Regions from separate parts of the Homo sapiens genome. Here region 1 is linked to region 2. The links are contacts of gene promoters, found by promoter capture Hi-C in blood cells and fetal thymus (Javierre and others, 2016). All regions are on one chromosome and are shown on one strand. Each heading gives the region's core, a stretch centred on a gene start or on the middle of the fragment in contact. The rest is flanking DNA. Distances are from core to core; before and after follow the strand shown.

Evidence for each region. The method cuts DNA at HindIII sites, captures the fragments that hold promoters and counts their contacts. A CHiCAGO score of 5 or more calls a contact.
Region 1: a contact is called between a fragment that was not itself captured here and the fragment with the promoter of UGGT1 in region 2, in 1 of 17 cell types (M1 macrophages). The highest score is 7.1, in M1 macrophages.

Annotation. Positions count from the first base shown.
Region 1 is chr2:129,745,981-129,751,004 of GRCh38, forward strand. No RefSeq gene overlaps it. Among named protein-coding and RNA genes, the nearest start is that of LINC02572, 130 kb to the right of the region's middle. RefSeq lists an enhancer at 1,740-2,352. The HindIII fragment of the contact is 889 bases long and covers 3,067-3,955 here.
Region 2 is chr2:128,089,776-128,094,625 of GRCh38, forward strand. It overlaps UGGT1 (UDP-glucose glycoprotein glucosyltransferase 1), which reads left to right and starts at 1,425. Exons shown (of 41, transcript NM_020120.4): 1 at 1,425-1,640. The coding sequence starts at 1,583. RefSeq lists an enhancer at 1,187-1,496. The HindIII fragment of the contact is 755 bases long and covers 1,193-1,947 here.

The DNA of each region.
Region 1 (5,024 bases), core at 2,261-4,760, 1.7 Mb after region 2:
CAGACCTGTTGGGAGGTGATTGGATCACAGCGGTGGCTTCCCCCATGCTGTTCTCATGAGACCTGATGGTTTTAAAAGTGGCAGTTTCCCCTGCGCTCTCTCTCTCTCCTGCCATCTTGTGAAGAAGGTGCTTGCTTCTCCTTCCCATGATTGTAAGTTTCCTGAGGCCTCCCGAGTCATGCAGAACTGAGTCAATTAAACCTCTTTCCTTTATAAATTACCTAGTCTCAAGTAGTATCTTTATAGCAGTGTGAAAACAGACTAATACAAATGGATAATCAGATTGTGATATATCCATACTATGGAATATTATTCAGCCATAAAAAGACATGAAATACTGATACATCCTGCAACATGGATGAACCTCCAAAACAATATACTAAGTGGATGAAATCAGATACAAGAGGTCACATATTGAATGAGTCCATTTGCATGACATGTCCCCGTTAGATAAATCCATACAGACTGAAAGTAGATTGGTGATTTCCAAAAGCAGGAGGGAGGGAGAAATGGGGAGTAATTTCTTAATGGGTGTGAGGTCATAATTTGAAGTGACAAAAATGTTTTAGAACTAGATAGAGGTGCTGGTTGCAGAGCATTGTGAACGGGTGTACCAAATGCCACTGAATTGTTGACTTTAAAATGATGTATTAGTCCATTTTCACACTGCTGATAGAGATACCTGAGACTGGGAAATTTACAAAAGAAACAGGTTTAATGGACTCACAGTTCCACATGGCTGGGGAGGCCTCACAATCATGGCAGAAGGCAAGGAGAAGCAAGTCACATCTTACATGAATGGCATCAGGCAAAGAGAGAGCTTGTGCAGGGAAAATCCCATTTTTTAAACCATCAGATCTCGTGAGACTTATTCATTATCAGGAGAACACCACAGGAAAGACCCGCCCCCATGATTCAATTACCTCCCACCAGGTTCCTCCCACGACACATGGCAATTGTGGGAGTTACAATTCAAGATGAGATTTGGGTGGGGACACAGAGCCAAACCATATCAAATGGTTAACTGTTTTATATTATGGGGATTTTACCACAATACATATGTTTTTAACTATCCAGTGTGTGCAGATTATATATGGAGGTAAGAACCACAAGAAATGAAACTGATTGTTCATAGCAAGCAGGGCCAGAGATTGGGATGGGTGGGAAGTGGGCGCTGCTTCTCATTGGAAGTCTCACTTAACTTAGTAGCATAAAATGGAATGTATCAATTTGATGAAAATAATTTCTTATAACATGCATGAAACTAGTTTTTTCCCTAACATGGCAGATTAGAGGCTTTTAGCTTGCCCTGGCTACTTGGAAATAGCAAAATAGTGCATAAAGACCAACTCTGAGTTTTAACTCAAGAAGGAAAATAGGAATCCACAAAACAGTGAAGGACACCCCAGATCCTAGGGAGGAGAAGGCAGGCAGAAAGCCCCGTGACAGTATCCATCCAGCCACTGAGAAAAGTGAGTGAAGCCCCAGGACCTGCGAGGGGCAGAACACCTCCCCTATCCCCTAGGGATCCAAGCAACCCACAAAGAGGGGAGCACTTTTTCTCTCCCAAGTCCTGGAGCTGACTCAGAGACAGGCTTGGAGACACTGAGAAAGAAAGACACCTAGAAAAGCTGCAGGCATTTTCCCAGACCTGGGACTGAGAGCAGGATGGCCTTTTTAATCCAGGCTCATACAGAGTCAGTCATTCTTTGGCAACCCAGCAGCATGGCCATGCATGCATTTTGGTCTCAGGCCAGAGACTGGAGTGCTTCCTCTGGAGCAAGTTAGGGGCCTACACAGCCAGAATTCATGGCAAGTGTGGAAAGTGCCCCAGCAGTAGGCACTGGAATTGTGATCTTCCCTGTCACAGGTCTGAGGTGGGAGGAGAGCTGCTGCAGCGTGGTTTCTCCTCGTCCCAGAGACTTGTGGCCAGCGCCTAGTTGGCAACCTATAACTGGTCTGTGCACGTCATTGCCGGGGTCCCAGCCTGCTCCTCTGGAATTGTGGTGCATCAGGACCCGCTCTTTTCCATCCCCAGGCATTCAGAGCACCTGCTCACCCAGATGAGAAGCCTGAGTTGCCCCACCCTTCCTGAGCAGAGATCCTGGTACAGGAGAGCCCTCTCTGCTTCATGCCCAGGCAGGCCGCCAGGCATCTGGAACCCACCCTCTCCTGGATTAGGAATTTAGGCAGCCACCTGAGGTTCCCATGCAGAGCTACTTGGGGCCAAAGAGGTTTTCTAGCTCCACGCCTAGGAACATCTCTGGGCACTGGTGGCTGCCCACTGGACTCCCACTCAGAGCTGGTGCTTGTGCCACAGCCAGCTCCTACCCATACAAGCCACCGAGCCACTCGTTGGCTTAGAGGCCAAATGGGGCAGCACAATAGAAAATCTGCTAACACCAACGCAGAGCAATGGGGAACTAGAGGAGCTCCTGAGACTGCTGCCTCCCTGCCCCCACAAGAGGCACAGGCCTGCCCACACGCCCAGCATATGCCACTACAACCAGCATCTGGGGAAGCCACCATACAGAGGCCACAGTAACCAAGGAACTCAGACAGGCTCTTTGCTAGTGAAAACACCCAGACCCAGAGAGCTAAGCCTTGGCCCCTAAGAGAGTGATGGACCCAGCACAGCCCGCCAAAGCCTCCCTTGAGTCAAAGGAAATGCAGGCATGACACTACCGTTGGCCTGAAACAGACTCAGAGAGGGGTCTTTCCTTGTTGCCCTCCCTCCTTAATGCACTGTTGTTGACTCAGCAGCAGCTCTTCCTGTCTGGGTTCAGGGAGGATGGGCTAAAAGAGACTGCTTCTGGGACTGCTCCAGCAGCTCCATCCTCACTGAACGTGCATTTCACCCTTCTCCATTGCCTCTGTCCCCACCCGTACCTGCCAACTCTTAATCTTAAGCTCCACCTACTGGACAACAGCCTGAACCTGTATGCAATCAAGGAACACGTACAGTGCGTTGGCACACTGAAAGCGCCCAGAGACAAAGCCAATGGTTCATACACAGTATACACCACAGTCATTCCTTTAAGAGAAAAAAGAGCTTAAAAATCAAGAAGCTTCATTCAAAGAATAGCAAATTCAACATAAAAGAAAGAAGCAGCAGCAGCAGCTCTCTCAGATAATAAGGAACCTACACAAGAACTCTAGCAATACAAAAAGCCAGAGTGTCTCATCACCTCCGAAGGATCAACACCAGCTACCAAGCAATGGATCCTAACTAGAATGAAATGTCTGAAATGACAGAGAATTCAGAATGTGGGTGGCAAAGAAACTCAATGAGCTCCAATAGAAAGCTGAAATCCAACACAAAGAAAACAGAACAAATTATCCAAGTTTTGAAAGACAGCATAACTACGTTAGAAAAGAACCAAACAGAACTTCTGGAAATGAAAATTTCACTATAGGAATTTCAAAACATAGTTGGAAGACTTAACAACAGACTAGACCAAGCAGAAGAAAGAATTTCAGAGCTCAAAGACTGGGGCTCTGAATCAACCCAGTCAGACAAAAATAAAGAAAAAAGAATGTTAAAAATGAACAAAACCTTCAAGAAACATGGGATTTTGTAAAGTCACCAAATAAATGACTTAAGAAAAGAAGGAGCAACTTGGAAAATAGATTTGAGGATAAAATTCAGGAAAATTTTCCCAAACTTGTGAGAGAGGTCAATATGCAGATACAAGAAATCCAGAGAACTCCTGGAGATATTGTACATGATGACCATTACCAAGGCGCATAGTCATCAAACTAGCCAAGGTCAATGCAAAAGAAAAAATCTTCAAGGCAGCTAGAGAAAAGTGTCATATTACCCATAAAGGGAAATCCATCACACTAACAGTTGACTCTCGCAGAAACCTCATAAGGCAGAAGAGATTGGGGGCCCATTTTTAGCGTTCTGAAAGAAAGAAAATGCCAGCCAAGAATTTCGTATCCTGCCTCACTAAGCTTCATAAACGAAGGTGAAATAAACTCTTTCCCAGAAAAACAATCAGTAAGGAAAATTGTCACCACCAGACTGGCCCAACAAGAGATGCTTAAGGGAGTTTTAAATATGGTAATAAAGGAACGAACGATACTTGCTACCATGAAAGCACACACAAGCACATAGCCCACAGACCCTATAAAGTAACTTGCTAACAACACTAGGACAGGAATGAAACCTCACATATTAATAGTAACCTTGGATGTAAATGGCCTAAATGCCCCACTTAAAAGACACAGAGTGGCAAATTGGTAATTAAAAACAAGACTCATCCTTCTGCTCTATGCAAGAGACCCATCTCACAAGTCACGACACCCATAGTCTCAAAGTAAAGGCATGGAGAAAGATCTATCATGTAAATGGAAAACAAAAAGAGCAGAAGTCACTATTCTTGTATCAGATAAAATAGGTTTTAAAGCAACAACAGTCAAAAAGGAAAAAGAAGGGCCCAAATAGCCAAAGAAATTTTACGCAGAAAAAATAAAGCCAGAGGCATCACATTATCCAACTTCAAACATACTACAAGGCTACAGTAACCCAAACAGCATGGTACTGATACAAAAACAAACACATAAACGAATGGAACAGAACAGAGACTCCTGAAATAGAGCCACATACCTATAACCAACTCATCTTTGACAGTCAACAAAAAAAAAAAAAAAAAAAATGGGGAAAGGACACACTATTTAATAAATGGTCCTGGGAAAACTGGCTAGCCTATCAACATATATAAAAATTAATGCAAGTAGATTAAATACTTAAATGTAACACCTCAAACTACAAAAATCCAGAAGAAAATCCAGAAAATACTCTTCTAGACATTGGCCTAGGCAAATAATTTATGATGAAGACCCCAAAATCAAAAATAGACAAATGAGACTTAACTGAAGAGCTTTTGCACAGAAAAAGAAAAAAAAAAGAAACAAACAAAAAAACACCTCTCAACAGAATAAACAGACAACCTACAGAATGGGATAAAATATTTGCAAATCATGTACTCGACAAAGGACTAATCTCCAGAATCTATAAG
Region 2 (4,850 bases), core at 175-2,674:
CATTGTATTCTGCTGAAGTTATTTCCCCCAAAATAAGTTGAGAACTATAGTGTAGAGAAAAGAAACCTCAAGAACAGGGCGACTGAGCACAAGAGAGAAAAAACAAAAAACAAAAAAACAAAAAAACTGCAACTTGCTCCCAGGGACTGGAGAAAATGTAAAAAAAGGAAGGTTGGAATCCATCAGTGTTTTTTTGCTGTTGTTGTTGCTGTTTTTTTTTTTTTTGAGATGGAGTCTCCCTCTCTCGCCCAGGCTGGAGTGCAGTGATGCGATCTCTGCTCACTGCAAGCAACCTCCGCCTCCCGGGTTCACGCCATTCTCCTGCCTCAGCCTCCATCCTCAGCGTGAGCCACCGCGCCCGGCCTCCATCAGTGTTCCATTAGTCATCTCCTTCATCCTCCTCTCCTTCCTCCCCTTCATCATGTTGGCTCATGTTTATTTATTAAAATTATTTTGGGCCGGGCGCAGTGGGTCACGCCTGTAATCCCAGCACTTGGGAGGCCGAGGCGGGTGGATCATCTGAGGTCAGCAGTTCGAGACCAGCCTGGCCAACAGGGTGAAACCCTGTCTCTACTAAAAATACAAAAATTAGCCAGGCGCGGTGGCGCACGCCTGTAATCCCAGCTACTGGGGAGGCTGAGGTGGGAGAATCGCTTGAATGCGGGTCGGGGGGTTGGGGGGTGGGGGGCGCGGGCGGGGGCGCGGAGGTTGCAGTGAGCCGAGATCGCGCCACTGCATTCCAGCCTGGGAGACAGAGCGAGACTCCAACTCCAAAAAAATATTTTTGGCTTTTCATTCACTTTGACTTAATATACTTAAAAATATACCCTCCAAAGAGGTATTCATTTTTGGGTGGGTTAAATGCTACCTATTCCAAAACAATTTTAAACTGGTTTATATTAGTTAAAAAAAAAATACTAAAAGGACAAAGTAGTCCCTGTAGACTAAGCTGCCGCTGTCCGAATAAGAAAGCTCAAGCGGCTCATAAAATTTAAAAAGTCTTCCTTTCATCATGCCTCCTGGAAGGTAGCTATCAAAATTTTAGGGTTTAGTATAAAGTCTAAGATGCTCAGAAACATTAAGACAATTGTCCTTACTGTGCCACCGAAAGGCTAAAGGGAGTAAGCTTTTAACAAAGGTTTAAGGGAGTAAGTCCCAGAGTCCAAACTGGATTTCACCGACTGACTGTTGAAGCTTTCGGGTCTCAGCTGTTGGCCCAACGAACCTTCCCAAGACCTTGAAGACCGGCAGCCTACCCGCCACCCTGAAAGGCGGAAGTGAGGAGAGAGGCAGGACTCCCCCCTCCCCAACCCTCGGAGATGAGAGGGCGACCGCGCGACGCTCTGGGCTGCTAGGTCTCGACTCGGTATCCGGAAGTCCTCCAGCGTTCGCCTGCAGGAAGCGGAAGTAAAAGGGCGGCCGGCAGCTGGGCAATTGCTTTGCGAGGCTGGGTGTTGAGTCGAGCCGCGGGAAAGGCGCGTGTCGGCCTCTCACTGGCGCAGCCTGCACTGCCGCTGCCGCCTCGCCCCGCCCTGCCCTGGCGTTGTCTCTGGCACTGTGGCGGACTGACCACGGCCCGGGCATGGGCTGCAAGGGAGACGCGAGCGGTGCGTGTGCCGCGGGTGCGCTGCCGGTGACAGGTACCCAGGGGTGGCGTGAGGAGGCCTCGTGGACAAAGAGAGGGTTTGGGGCACAAGGCGACCCTGTGCCCCTGTCACATTGAGCTTCCGCCTCTACCGTGACTCAGTTTACCCTCTGGTGTCCTATCCCTTCCCCTATTCGCGAGCGCCCCGAGTTGCCCTCAGTGGTCTTCTTGGCAAGGTATCGCTTCCGCGGGGGTGGCGGCGGGCTCTGTTCAGCGGTCTTGAACCTTCTTTGAAGAGCTTTAGATCCTTGTGCCAAGTGCAGAAGGAAATGGGGGAGGTATCCTACCATGGATTTAGACCAAGCTTGATCCTCAGTGAGTTGAGAAGCAGCACTTTGCAGGACCCTGATTGCAGAACGACGTGCTTTTTAAAATAGATTTCAATTTTTCCTAAAATGAATTCGGGTTGATGCGTATTGGTTACTGTTTTCTTTTAACACTGTGATCTGTTGGCTGGAAATTGGATGATATGGTTTCACTTTTAGCGTGGGACCTGCCAGAATGAGATCTGCGTCCGTCGCCAATAACTTATAGATGTGAACTGTTTTTGTTCCTTGGCCAGAATCTGCAGTTGTTTTGCATTTCTTGCCAGATTTGAGAAGGAGCAATTTTGTTCGTTTGAAGTCCTGGGGTCTTTTGCCTTATTGTGCTACACTAACTGTTTTGGAAACATTCATTGATGTACTTGCCAGCCAATTTTAGTGTAAAGTGCCCTCTTTCCTTCAAGAATCTTACACTTGCAGGCGTTTGAAGACATTTTAAATAGCTATTTAACAGCACCACAAAACTTGGAATAATTGTAGCCTTTTCACTTTGCTTTTTTTTTTTTTAAGCCAGTCGAATTTAGCAACACTTGACTTGCTTTTGATAAACTTAGCTGAAGCTTATTTTAAAAAAATTCTTATTTATTTATTTATTTATTTATTTTGTAGAGATGAGGTCTTGTTACCTACCAGTCTGATCTTGAACTCCTGGCCACATGAAACTTATTAAAGGAAGTGACCATAATACTTTGTACAGTAGCATAGCACATTTATAATGCACATTGAACTTCAGGGGAATATATGAAAGTAAGAAGAAAATTTGCTTAGAACTTTCCTGCAGCTGTCTGTGAGCATTTTCTTTTTTTATCTAAGTTTCCCTGTAACAATACAAGATGATGTGATAATTTTCTTTCTTTCTTTCTTTTTTTTTTTTTTTTTGAGATGGAGTTTCACTCTTGTTACCCAGGCTGGAGTGCAATGGTGCAAGAGATAGTGTTTTAATTTATTTTTTTATTTTTTGTTGGTGAGGCAGAGTCTTGCTCTGTTGCCCAGGTTAGAGAATAGTGACATGATCTTGCTAGCTGCAGCCTCCACCTCCTGGGCTCAGGTGGTCCTCCTACCTCAGCCTCCTACGGATGGTTGTTGATAGTTGGGCCTAGAACTTGTTAAAGAGTGTTTTCTGTTTATTCATCATGCCGCAAGTATAATGCTTATCATGCAAAGCCACATGGCACATTCTGTTGGCCATTATCTCAGACTGTTTGTCTTTATAAGCAACATTTAAGAACCCCTAGGGTCAGAATGATAAGGGATCCTATAAAATGAAGACATACTCAAAGCAGAGACCACTTCAGTGAGATTCTTACGTCTGCTTCTCTGGACAGTCTTTTCCTCTGGTTTTACCTGTAGAGTTAAGAATGTGGGGTCAGAGTGGCAAAGCTCTTTTTTAATGTATAGCTTTCCTCCTTTTTTCATCTCAAATGGTGCTGCATCTCTCCCCAAGAACACGTACTCTCTCTCCTTTTTGAAAACAGTGTAGGGGGATCTCGAGGCAGGCCACAGGTTCATAGGATTTTCATTTTACCTATCTTGCAGTCCTAGGCATTTTATAGCATCTTCACTCTTGGTGCCACACTCCTTTCCTGTTGTTTCCATTCATGCCTTAATGAATGAGGCCTGTGTTTATTTCATTTTGAGAGCCTTCTATGTTTCAGGCATAATGCTAGGCGTGGAGACCATGATAGACAAAACACCCTGCTCTTGAGGAGCTCCCATCGGTCCCCAAAGCCAGCGTAAGTGTGGATCTGTCAGATTGGTTGGTTGGATTGCTTCGGTCCCAGCTTCAGGCCTCCTCCCTTGGTTTCAGGTTAAAACTATTCCTTTCTCAGCCACCTGTCTCCCAAGAACTGTGGCCACTGAAAATCCTTGGACTTGCCTTGGTTCTCACAAGCACTTTTCTCAGTCTGAGTCTGCACAGAGTATGGCTTTTTACCCTTTTGTAAAGCCAGAGAACCAGAGAAGAGAGCACGGTATTGTAGAACTTTAAAAGCAGGAAGGTGTGGGTTCTAAGCACTGCTATTTATTAGTTAGGCAAGGTACTCAGCATCTTCGAGCTTTCACTTATTTTTAAAGTGGAGATGCATGCAGCATATTCATGGACTGTCTTCTGAGTGCCAGGCATCATGCTGTGCACTTTGGTAAACGAAGTAGACATGGTTGCTCCCCTCAGAGAACGTTAGTGCCCTGGGTTGTTGTATGTAAGGATTAGATAACACTGTGTATGTAAAGCACCTAATACAATGTTTAGCTCAGAGTCATTGCTTGTTAAATGCTGGGGTTTCCTCAGGGGACTTTGTCATACCCCCAATTTCCTCCCCACTCTACATGCCATCCACCTGGGGTTACAGTGCAGTGGCGTCCAATTCGTCATCAGGAATCACCACTTTCTGGGGTGTACACATCTAGACCCCTTCAGGACAAATTGTAAACATAGCTAATAGCGTAATACTGCTAGACAGTTCATATGATGCGCTGTCTCCAGTTTATAAACTCATTGACTCAGGCCAGATTAAAAAAAAAAGAAAAACTCTGTAACTTTTGGGGAGAATTTTTTCTCTCAGCCACAGAGGATATATTTCCAATGTGTATTTTTGAGGCTATTTAATAACGATGATGTACTATTCTGTAATTTAGAAGATAGTTTTTTCTTACGATAAAATGTTTTACTACAACAATCAATTCTGGTATAGTACTTGGCACTTTACAAAGTGATTTTTTTATTGCCTCTTCATTTTCACATTGACCCTGTGAGGCAGATACTATTATTCCTACTTTGATAGTCTTCGAGACTAAGGGCCTGGGAAGTTAGGTAACATATATGTGGTTAAACTGCTAGTACGTAGCAAACTCAGGAATTGATCACAGCTGCCCTGATGCTAAAA